Regions from separate parts of the Homo sapiens genome. Here all the other regions are linked to region 2. Evidence: promoter capture Hi-C in human tissues and cell types (Jung and others, 2019). All regions are on one chromosome and are shown on one strand. The core of a region is centred on a gene start or on the middle of the fragment in contact, and the rest is flanking DNA. Distances in the headings are between cores, read along the strand shown. Region 1 overlaps RIMS2 (regulating synaptic membrane exocytosis 2). Region 2 holds the start of UBR5 (ubiquitin protein ligase E3 component n-recognin 5). Region 3 overlaps LOC105375676 (a long non-coding RNA gene).

Region 1 (3,555 bases), core at 436-2,935, 1.1 Mb after region 2:
GAATTTCCAGTGGGTTTTTGTGTAATTGTGAAAAAATGTCTGAGGAAAGCAAACCCACTAAATCAATAGAAAAGTATTCAGTAAATACTGAGTTTCTAATATGTACATATCATAGCCTTTCAGATAAGCTTTTTGTAACACAAATTAGAAATTATGTGTTTCTTGATGTGTATATTTTCATTCATAGTTTAGATTTTCTGTTAAAGGGTTAATTTGCTTCCCAAATAAAGGAAGGCAATAAGTAAAAATTTTCCTGATAGGTTAGGATAACAATTAGTATATATTTAGCACATATATAGTGAGCAGTTCTCTATTTTTTAAAATAATTCAATTTTAAAAGTATTTTCTAAAGTTAATTTATAAAATTTTGAAATAAAATCTTTTTTTTTCTTTCTTTTCTTTTCTTTCTTTCTTTTTTTTTTTTTTTTTTTGAGATAGGGTCTTTCTTGGTTTGAGGCCCAGGCTGGAGTGAGATGGCGAAATAACGGCTCACTGCAGCCACGACCTCCTGGGCTCAAGCGATTCTCTCACCTCAGCCTCTGGAGTAACTGGGACCACAGGCAGGTGTCATGACACTCGACTAATTTATTTTTTATTCTTGTAGAGATGAGGTCTCCCTATGTTGCCCAGGCTGGTCTTGAACTCCTGGGCTCAAGTGATCCTCCTGCCTTGGCCTCTCAAAGTGTTGGGATTACAGGTGTGAGCAACCCGCAGCCCCCAAATTTCTTAGCTACCTATTTCCCCTACCCAGAGCCAACTACTGTTACTAGTATATTTTATATTGTATACTCTTCTAGAGACAGTCTATGCATAAGAATAAATACATGTGTATATATAATATTGTGTGTGTCTGTATATGTGTGTATGTGTGTGCTCATACATGTATGTATGGATGGATGTAAACGTAAAAACAGAAATGTGTCCTGCAGTTTGCTTTATAAGAGGTCAGTTCCACATCTGTGACTGTATAGCTGCCTCGTTAACCTTAATGGATATAGGATATATACTATCCCTTTTAATGAATATTCTGTAATTTCTTTAACTAGTACCATATTTGTGGGTATTTAAGTTTTTTTCTAAGTATTTTGTCATTAGAAATTTTTAGTATTTATCACAGTATTATCTGTGATAAATATCTTCGTACATGCATTTCCTACATGTATGAATGTATATTTGAGACAGATTCCTAGAAACAAAGTTGTTGGGCCAAAGGGTTAGTATATTTTAAATTTAATAAATATTGTGAAATTTACTTTTGTAGAGGAAGTGTGTATAAGTGGTGTGTACTAAGGGGACTTTCCCACATCCTCGCCAACTCAGTGTATGGCAATCTTTACCAATGTTTCAATGAAAAAGATGCCACTGTAGACTTATTTGCAATTTTCTTGTCAGAAAGATTGAGAGCCTTTTTAAAAAAATTTGGTTACAGCCATTTGTATTCCCTTTTCTATTAGTAATTTTTAGTGATTTGTGGAGGCTCTCTTACATGTTATTTGTTTTAGGACCTTGTTTATGCCTTTTTTACTGGTCACGATTTAAAAAAATTGAATTTATTGTAGTTTTGTTTTATGGATTTTGAGTTTGTGATCTTCTTAGAATGATCTTCCCTATTCTAGTATTTTTAAAAAGTACCAATTGAATCATGAATACTTTTAAATAAAAATTGCATATGTAAACCACTGTTGCCATTGCCAAAAAAATGAAAAACTATAGTTTTTAAGGATTCAAAATGCATTCTAAAAAATTGATTGACATTTTATAAGAAAACAAGCAAACAAAAAATTGACTTATATTTTATGAAAGAGTACCCAATAAATTTATATATATTCTATTTTGAAATAAGGGCAATTAAATAATATCTTCCTCTTGACAATAGATTTTGATAAAGAACTAATTATATTGTGCGATGAAGAAAGAGATAGTGGAAGCAAGTGTGATAAACCAGATGAACTTTGACTTGACACCTTACTTTACTAATTAATAATGGTAACGTTTTGCTTATATTATTAAACTCTGAGTTTCCTCATCTATACTATTTGAGTAATAACACCTATTTTGAAGGATTGTGATTGTTATTATTAAACTCTGAGTTTCCTCATCTATACTATTTGAGTAATAACACCTATTTTGAAGGATTGTGATTGTTATAGACTAAGTATCCTGGCATAAGTAGTGGTGCAATAAATAATCATTATTGTTAACTGACATAGATAGCACTCTTTAAACCTTATCATAGGATTGCTGGGTGAAATTTTCTTATTTTCTAAAAATTGAGAGATTCTTTTCCTTGTCTATTATGAAGTCAAAATATGCCAGGAGGGCTTTTAAGCGACTTCATTATTTGTTTAGAAGACTAGGGATGGGGAGAGGGTGGGTGACAACTTGAAAATAGTTTCCTCAGCAAATACCATTCTTAAGGAGCCTGATAACTAAGACATAGCAGTGAAAATAGCACTGACATCAAGTTATTGGTAATCGGCAAGATACTGATAGTCAAAGGTGAATTGAGGGGACTTACTTGTGGAAACTACTTTGTAATTGACTTTAGATTTGCCTTGGTTAAACTTTTTACTCTATTATTTAACTAAAATCTATATTTACCTATTTGTCTTATTCACATTGTATCTAAGAACCCAGAGAACCGTATTAGGTTAAGCTAATTCTGAAGTATGGTTATTGAGCTTAGAATGCTGATCTTCACATCGCCCCTCAAATACACTTAAGCTTTGTATGATTGCCGGTTTCTCATCCTTCTGGCTTAGCTTCAAATTTGGATCTTTAGAGAGCTCTTTTCTGACCACTCTTTCTTATGTAGATTCTCTCCATTATTCTTTATAACAATACCTTTTATATTTCCCCAATTATGCTTATCAAAATTTATAATGATTTATTTACTTGTTTATGGTCTGTCCACTCTGCTAGATTATCAACTCAAAGAGAGCACACACCATGTCTGTTTTGTTCACTAATGCAGCTTCAACTTCTAATGTAATACAATGCCTTACACATAGTAGTACTCAAAAATATTAATCGGGTGAATGAACGCACATTGGGAATGAAATATTATGTTCATCTAGGTGGTACAAACTTTCAAGGTGAACTCCAATAATCTTAAAAAAAGATTTGCTTATGTAGTAGTGTCCTTATTTTTGAAATCAAATGTAATTTTTAAACATGCCTAATTTTGCTTATTTTACATGGAAGGAAACTTACAGTGTTTGTGTATGATTGCAGCTTATCTTTCTTTTGGACTAAGAGCATATCTTTTTTGACTAGAAACTAGAAGAACATTGTGATAGATATCATTTTTAAATTTAAGGAATATTAGGAATTAGGGAAAATTTGGCTGTAAAAGTGATCCTTTAAGAGAATTGATACATTTCCATTGTGTTTAGCACAGATGAGTGATAAAGAGTACACAGAAGGCTTTGGATAGAAATAGTTCATGCCCTCCAGGGACAGATAATCTAAGGCCAACCATAATCATATGAACACATAAAAATGTAAAGTGTCATGAAAAAATACTGTAAAGGTGTTTTTAGTACATTATAACCA
Region 2 (3,886 bases), core at 210-2,709:
TACAGCGTGTTAAGAAAAGCAGCATTGCGAACTGCAAACGTAAGAGTTTTCCTTTGACACTCTACGCACGGTTTTCAGCTGTCAAATTACAACTCAGGAAAACACTATCATTAGAATAGAAAAGGAAACAAAAAAGCTCGCACCACAGGGGCTAGTAGCAGGAGCTGCCAGCACCATTTCAGGAGGAGAGTAAAGGGAATCCAATGCACTTCCCCACCCCCGCTTGAATCCATCCCCTCCCGGGGCAGGCAAACCTCACTGCAGGGGCTCAAATTTAATAATAATAACAATAATCATGGCGCTTCCTCCCTCACTCCCTCCCCCAACTATCACCTTCCCCCCACCCCCCGCCCGCTCCCAGCAATCTGCCGGGAATCGGCTTCTCTCCCCAACCCGACCCCGGGATCCCCAGGTCCAGACCACCCCACCGGACACAGCTGCCGGGGGCCCGGGACAAGCCCAGCCCAGCCCACCCCGGGGCCCCTGGCCCCGCTTCTCCTCTTCCCTCTCTTTTTACCTCCACCATCCCCCATCCGCATTGTCTGTCTCAATTCAACTTTGACTAATATGGATTCCTCGGGCCTTGGCCGGGCAGTAATTACCGCCTGCCCCCCGGGAGCCAGAAACCACCCCCCCATCTCCGCCGAGTTCAACGCCGCTCCTTGCGGGAGGGGGAAGGGGGTTTACAGAGCGCTCTCCAGTCTACACCGCGAGTCCCGTCTACACCGCGCTCCCCCCGCGGCCCCCTGCCCCCGGGATGAGAAGTTTGCCCCGGAAGGAGCCTAGCAGGAGGCAGTAAGGACCCCCGCACCCCACCCCAGCTGGCCGGCCGGCGCGTAAACACCCGCACCCGCCCGGCACGGCCCGTGGGGGAGGGGAGGGAGGGAAGGGCGCCCCTCCCCCCGCGCCCGCCGACCCGCCAGCCCTATTACCTGTCATTGAGCTGGTCCTCGGTGCCCGGCAGCGGGTGAACCACGAAATGGATGGACGTCATGGTGCTTTCCTTCTCGTCCTCCACTCGAGGGCGGCCCCCTCCCGCTCTCGCCCGCCCCCCAGCCCTCTACCCCTCCCCAAAACCCACAGCCGCCGCCGCCTCCCAGTCCCCAAATGGAGGGAAGCAAATACGCAGGGGCCGCCGCCGCCTCCCTGCCGGGCGTGTGTCCGCGGCCCGGAGGGGCGGGCAGGAGGGCGAATCCACACGCCACCCGCTCCCCCGGCGACAGCGCGGAGTGCGAGGCAGGCGGCCGGGACCAGGGGCGCGCCGCCGGCCAGCGGCAGACGGGCGTTGGGAGAGGGGCGGCCGGGGGAGGAGAGGGGCGGCTGCTGGCTGCGGGCTACGGGGACGGTCTGGTCCCGGCGGCGGACGGGGTCCGGACTAGGGGAGGTGAGGAAGGAGGGGAAGGAGATGAGCCCGCACCGCGCGTCACTAGCGAGAAGCTGCCGCCGCCATCTTCACTTCTGCCCCAGTTTCTCCGTCTCGCAGGCTCCGCTCCGGAGCGGCGGGGGAGGGGCAAACGGGAGGAGGAGGAGGGAGGAGACCGGCGGGCGGGGGCGCGGCGGCGAGAGGCGGGGCTCCGGGAAACGGGCGGCAAGGCCCCCTCGATTGGGCTGCTCAACGTTGTCGGGCCACGACGCTGTAAGGCGCGTGCCGATTGGTCCGTTCGGCTCCCGAGCCCAGCCCCGCCGGGGGTGGGATGTCTCCAGAGTGAGTGTTCCGGAGAGCACGTGTTAGGGAAGGAGGAGGCTGCGGGCTAACCTGCCGGGAGGGAGGGTAAGTGTGTGTCCCAGAGGAGGCGAGGAGGAAGAGGGGCTCTTGTGTTCTTTCGCTCGGATTCCCCTGGGGCAGCCCTAATTATTTGGCGGATCCTTAGGGGTTTCTTGTTGCTTCTCATCCTTCATCCGCAGTTGTATTTATGGTGAAGTTGGTAAAATCAGTTAAGGGGCAAGACATATACAGCCTTTTATTGGAAAAGTAAGGAAATTATGTAAGGGCCTTTCCAGAAGGAGATAGTAGGATCCTGGAGTTGGCTTTGCAGCAACTTCTATTACCTCGGTCTCCCCAGTTTCCTCACCACCATCACATGCCCAAAGACAAAATGTGGAAATTTCCACTAATTTCCTGATATAAATGATTCGTGATTTTTTATTACTTTTAAATGAAAGATGATAAACCTGTTCTACAAAGGAGTTCAATTTATGATCAGTGGAATCAGAACGGAAAATTATTATTTTTTTTTTTTTTTTCCCCGAGACGGAGTTTCGCTCTTGTTGCCCAGGCTGGAGTGCAATGGCGCGGTCTCGGCTCACCTCAACCTCCGCCTCCCGGGTTCAAGCGATTTTCCTGTCTCAGTCTATGGAGTAGCTGGGATTACAGGCATGTGTCACCACGTCCGGCTAATTTTGTATTTCTTTTTTAGTAGAGATGTGGTTTCACCATGTTGGCCAGGCTGGTCTCGAACTCCTGACCTCAGGTGATCCACCCGCCTCGGCCTCCCAAAGTGCTGGGATTACAGGCCTGAGCCACCACGCCTGGCCGAGATAGGATCTTTTATACCGAGTTTCTACTATAAGACACTTTCAGAGTTTTGGCCACGGCGCACAGTGGCTCACGCCTGTAATCCCAGCACTTTGGAAGGCCGAGGATGTCGGATCACCTGAGGTTGGGAGTTCGAGACCAGCCTAGCCAACTTGGTGAAACCCCATCTCTACTAAAAATGCAAAAATTAGCCAGGCATGGCTGTGCGCGCCTGTAAACCCCACTACTCAGGAAGCTGAGGCAGAAGACTTGCTTGAACCTGGCAAGTTGCAGTGAGCTGAGATCATGCCACTGCACTCCAGCCCGGGCAACAGAACGAGACTCCATCTCAAAAAAAAATTTTTTTTAATCAAATAAGTCTGTTTTTTTTTCCCTAAGGAACCAATTCATGACTTTCTTCTCAAAGGTTTCTATGACCTCCTTTAAAAAATAAAGTACCTCTTCGAAGGCAAAAACTGAGAACATGACATTCCTTCTACAGAGGTGGTCTGTTAATGAATTACACACACACACACACAGTTTTGCTTAGGAAGTTCTTCTGAGCAAAATTTATGAAAAAATACTTACAAATCAGGACAGACCTGGTACCCTCAAGGCAGATAATGGAACACTTTTGTAGGTTACCAGCTCAACCATTGGCCCAGATTAGTTTAGACTAAAAAGTGATTTCAAGGTCACTATTAGATGTCCCTGGGAGCCCTGAGGAAGGAAGGTAGACCAGTAGACACTGCTAGATTTCAAGCCAAACAGATCTAAAAAAAATTTTTTTTTTTTGAGACGGAGTCTTTGCTCTGTCGCCCAGGCTGGAGTGCAATGGCACGATCTTGGCTCACTGCCACCTCCGCCTCCTGGGTTCAAGTGATTCTCCTGCCTCAGCCTCCCGAGTAGCTGGGATTACAGGCGCTGCCACCATGCCTGGGTAATTTTTGTATTTTTAGTAGAGACAAGGTTTCACCATGTTGGCCAGGTTGGTCTCGAACTCCTGACCTCAGGTGATCCACCCACCTCGGCCTCCCAAAGTGTTGGGATTACAGGCGTGAGCCACTGCGCCCAGCCCAGATCTAAATTTCAGTTGTTTCTGCTACTTAACTACGTGGCCTTACTTGGATTTAGATTAGTTAGATTTGGCCGGGTGCACTGGCTCACGCCCATAATCCCAGCACTTTGGGAGGCCGAGGTGGGTGGATCACCTGAGGTCAGGAGTTTGAGACCAGCCTGGCCAACATGGTGAAACCCTGTCTCTACTAAAAATACAAAAATTAGCCAGGAGTGTTGGTGTGGCTGTAGTCCCAGCTACTCCAGAGGCTGAGGCAGGAGAATTGCTTGCTCGAACCCGGGAGGTGGAGGTTG
Region 3 (3,534 bases), core at 539-3,038, 1.3 Mb before region 2:
TAGAACTTTTCCAGGAGTTGTTCACTGTTTTGGAAAATCACATTAGCAATGTCAACATTACTCATGGAATTCGAGCCTCCAGTACAATACACCCGATGGGCCTGCCCCAGTGGCTGCCACATTGACTGTGATTCTAGGTATGGATCCAGGCACCTGCAATGTTATTTCTTTTAGCACAGTTCTGCCAAGAATTTGCATGTTGAAATACATGTTGTTTTATTGTACATTATTTCTCTTTTAATTCCACTTCATAATAGTTATTTGATTTTTAAAATTATGTGTACAGATAGTTTATGTTGTATACAAATTTCATTTCAGTGTAGTAAAAGGGACATTATAAAATATTTGTAGGGCTGGGTGCAGTGGCTCATGCCTATAATCCCAACATTTTGGGAGGCTGAGGTGGTAGGATTACTTGAGCCCAGGAGTTCAAGACTAGCCTCGGCGACATAGAAAAAACCCTGTCCTTACAAAAAATTAAAAAAAGAAAATTAGCTGAGCCTGGCGGTGTGTGCCTATAGTCCCAGCTACTCAGGAGGCTGAGCTGGGAGGATCATTTGAGCCCAGGAGTTTGAGGCAAAAAAATATAAAAATATTTGTGATAAAAAGAGGGTACTGGGTCCAACAGGGAGGAGATCCACTGTTTGGACCAGTAAAGATTCATCTCCTGGGTCCTCAGATGGGACGCACCTCCCTGAAGCCTCTACCTAGGCCGAGGAGGATAAGTACCAGGAGAGGCAGGGTTCTTTGGGGAAGCAAGAAGTAAGAATTGGCCAGGGGGTAGCAAGAACATTGTCTGCTCCAGGCAGGTTCTATTCAGCGCCATCCAGGAGCTACCTGGATTCAGTAGCTGCAGCTTTCCAGGCAGGAGAGAGGAGTTTGTTGTTGAGAAAGACACGAATCATCAGGTCCACCATGGCCTGGATAAAATGCCATTGACTGAATCCACCTTCCTTGCTTTTTATTCTAGCTCCACAGAACAGTCTTCTGATTACTAATGTGGCATCCTGGCTACAATTTTTTTTTTTTTTTTGAGACAGAGTCTTGCTCTGCTGCCCAGGCTGGAGTGCAGTGGTGCAATCTCGGCTCACTGCAACCTCTGCCTCCCGGGTTCAAGATATTTTCCTGTCTCAGCCTCCCAAGTAGCTGAGAGTACAGGTGTGTGCCACCACACCCAGCTAATTTTTGTATTTGTTGTAGAGACAGGGTTTCACCATGCTGGCCAGGCTGGTCTCGAACTCCTGACCTGAAGTGATTTGCCAACCTTGGTCTCCCAAAGTGCTGGGATTACAGGTATGAGCCACTGCACCTGGCCCTGGCTGCTTTGATACTAGGAAGAATTAGCCAGGTGGCTCCCAATGCTGGTCATTAATGTTCTGATCCCTGAGAAGGGGCATTCTCAGTTGTGAACAGATGTACTGGTGCTCTGATCAATTCTTTATTCTCTGTGGATCTGGTTAAGTCAGTAGCTCAGAACTGACCTATTCTGGGTGTCCTGACAAAGTGGAGTTCTGGGACTTGCAAAGCTGAAGTAGAAAAAGACCACCTCCAGGTGCTGCCACCAGAAAAGGCCCTTCCTGGGTAACTGCTGGCTTCCCTGGATGGCAGGGGCTTTCAAACTTCTGGCTGTGTAACCTCCGAAAAGAAAATGAAATGTCATACAAATGCCCACTCTGCAGAGCCAGTTAAAGGGGAGCCGTGCTACCTGGGGGCTGGGGATGGGAGGCCGGGAGACAGCTCCCATGCATCCTGAAAGCCTCTCCCTGTGGTGGGCGCGGGCTTCTTGAAGATGGACAGGCTCTGACCGCTTTTGTCCTCTCTCTGAGTCACAGGATGAAGTCTTGGCCTCTGCCATCTCCCAGTTCCTCCCTGGGGGTGATAGAGGGAGCCACCCACACAGAAGCTCCTACCCAGGGACTTGATTCCTCTCAGTGCCACGCCTGGGGGTGCACCCAGGTGGGGCCCCTGTATTCACTGCGGCGGTAGAAGGGCTGTGAGCAGGCTTTCCTGGTTAGGCTCTGTATTAGTCCGTGTGCGTTGCTTTAAAAGAATGCCTGAGACTGGGTAATTTATAAAGAAAGGAGGCTTATTTGGCTCGTGGTTCTGCAGGCTGTGCACAAAGCATAGGCCCAGCACCTGCTTCTTTCTGGTGAGGCCTCAGGAAGTTTCCAATCATGGCAGAAGGCAAAGGGGAGCCAGAGTATTACGTGGAGAGACTGAAAGCAAGAGAGGGAGGAGGTGCCAGGCTCTTCTTAAACAACCAGATCTCCTGTGAACTCAGAGTGAGTGCTCACTCATCATCATGAGGACAGCACTAAGATATTCATAAGGGTTATGCCCCCGCAACCCTAACACCTCCCACTAGGCCCACCTCCACCGCTGGAGGTCACATTCCAACATGAGATTTGGAGGGGACAAACATCCAAACCATATCAGGCTCTTTCCTAATCATTTTTCTTTTGCATCTTAAAAGTGAAGAGGAAAGAAGTCAGGCTAAGCCACAGTTAAATGGTCCATGGGGGAACAGTTAAAGCAAGCATCAAAATATTAAAGACATAAAGAGCTTTCACTAATACCAGGTCATCAGTAGGTCAGGCCACCGGCTTTCCACCCTTCATAAAAAAGGGAGGGGGCGATTTCCTGTCCAGTTCTGAAGGGAGCATGCATGGAGAATGCTGGAAAACCAGGCCTCTTAAGCTCAGAAACAGTCTGTGGCCCCAGCAAGCCCCAGGGCCCGGGACCCCAAATGCAGAAGAAATGCCTAGTAGCCACAGGGCCCAGAGGGGTGTGCAGTACTGGGAGACAGAGATGGCACTAATTCCCAGGACAGTGGCGGCCACCAGGGCATGCCCAGGAGCTCAGGGGTCTTGGTGGTACCCGGGAAGCTCCTTCCCTCACCCAGCAAGCAGCTGAGGCTGCGGAGACCAGGTACCTGCTCAAGAACATTCATCTGACAAATACTCATTATTGAGTGCCTACGGTATGCTGAGCTGTTCCAAGTGCTCTAGATGGGGCTGGCTGTGATCAAAACAGAAAGCCCTGCCCTGAAGGACTGGGTAGACCTCAGAAATACCTCTTATAAGTGTGAGAGTTTGCTTTATGCTTTTCTGTGTATAAATGGGCTTGCATTGCTTTGAAAATTAGGAAAAAGGTTATTAAAGAATGTTATTAGAAATTGTTTTTGAATAAATATCCACGAGGAAATAGAAACATGATAAGGAAATACCAGCTAATTACACATCCGCAAGTGCAGTGGACTCTGTACTCTGATGAGGCCTCAGGAGGTGTGGTCAGAGAATCAACACCAGATGGTCCTAGAAGAACTGATTGTGAACTGTTATTGTCAAAGAAATCATCATAGGAGAACTGTAACTGTTGGTCAATCTGCTGATGTTTTATTCATGCACTTCATTATTCAGTCAAGAAACTTTTTTTGTATTAGATTCTGAGAACATAGAGATGGGCAAATTACCATCCTGCCCTCTAGGACCCCACATTTCTGTTGCAGGGCAGAAATGTTAATGGTTACAAACA

What was found. The method cuts DNA at HindIII sites, captures the fragments that hold promoters and counts their contacts. A contact is called where the count stands out against the background at its distance.
Region 1: a fragment that was not itself captured here is called in contact with the fragment with the promoter of UBR5 in region 2 in 1 of the 25 tissues and cell types used here (heart left ventricle).
Region 3: a contact is called between a fragment that was not itself captured here and the fragment with the promoter of UBR5 in region 2, in 1 of the 25 tissues and cell types used here (dorsolateral prefrontal cortex).

The regions. Positions count from the first base shown.
Region 1 is chr8:103,504,435-103,507,989 of GRCh38, forward strand. All of the region lies in intron 1 of RIMS2 (regulating synaptic membrane exocytosis 2), which reads left to right. Among named protein-coding and RNA genes, the nearest start is that of RIMS2, 5.6 kb to the left of the region's middle. The HindIII fragment of the contact is 5,012 bases long and covers 1-3,555 here.
Region 2 is chr8:102,411,241-102,415,126 of GRCh38, forward strand. It overlaps UBR5 (ubiquitin protein ligase E3 component n-recognin 5), which reads right to left and starts at 1,460. Exons shown (of 59, transcript NM_015902.6): 1 at 933-1,460. The coding sequence starts at 994. LOC105375683 (a long non-coding RNA gene) reads left to right here and starts at 1,099. Exons shown (of 5, transcript NR_168428.1): 1 at 1,099-1,771. RefSeq lists enhancers at 1-630, 74-153, 631-1,409, 1,784-2,053, 2,615-2,724 and 1 more and silencers at 824-1,263, 1,324-1,403, 1,434-1,633. The HindIII fragment of the contact is 18,623 bases long and covers 1-3,886 here.
Region 3 is chr8:101,140,708-101,144,241 of GRCh38, forward strand. LOC105375676 (a long non-coding RNA gene) reads right to left here. Exons shown (of 3, transcript XR_928465.4): 3 at 3,374-3,534. Among named protein-coding and RNA genes, the nearest start is that of LINC03090, 14 kb to the left of the region's middle. The HindIII fragment of the contact is 5,741 bases long and covers 1-3,534 here.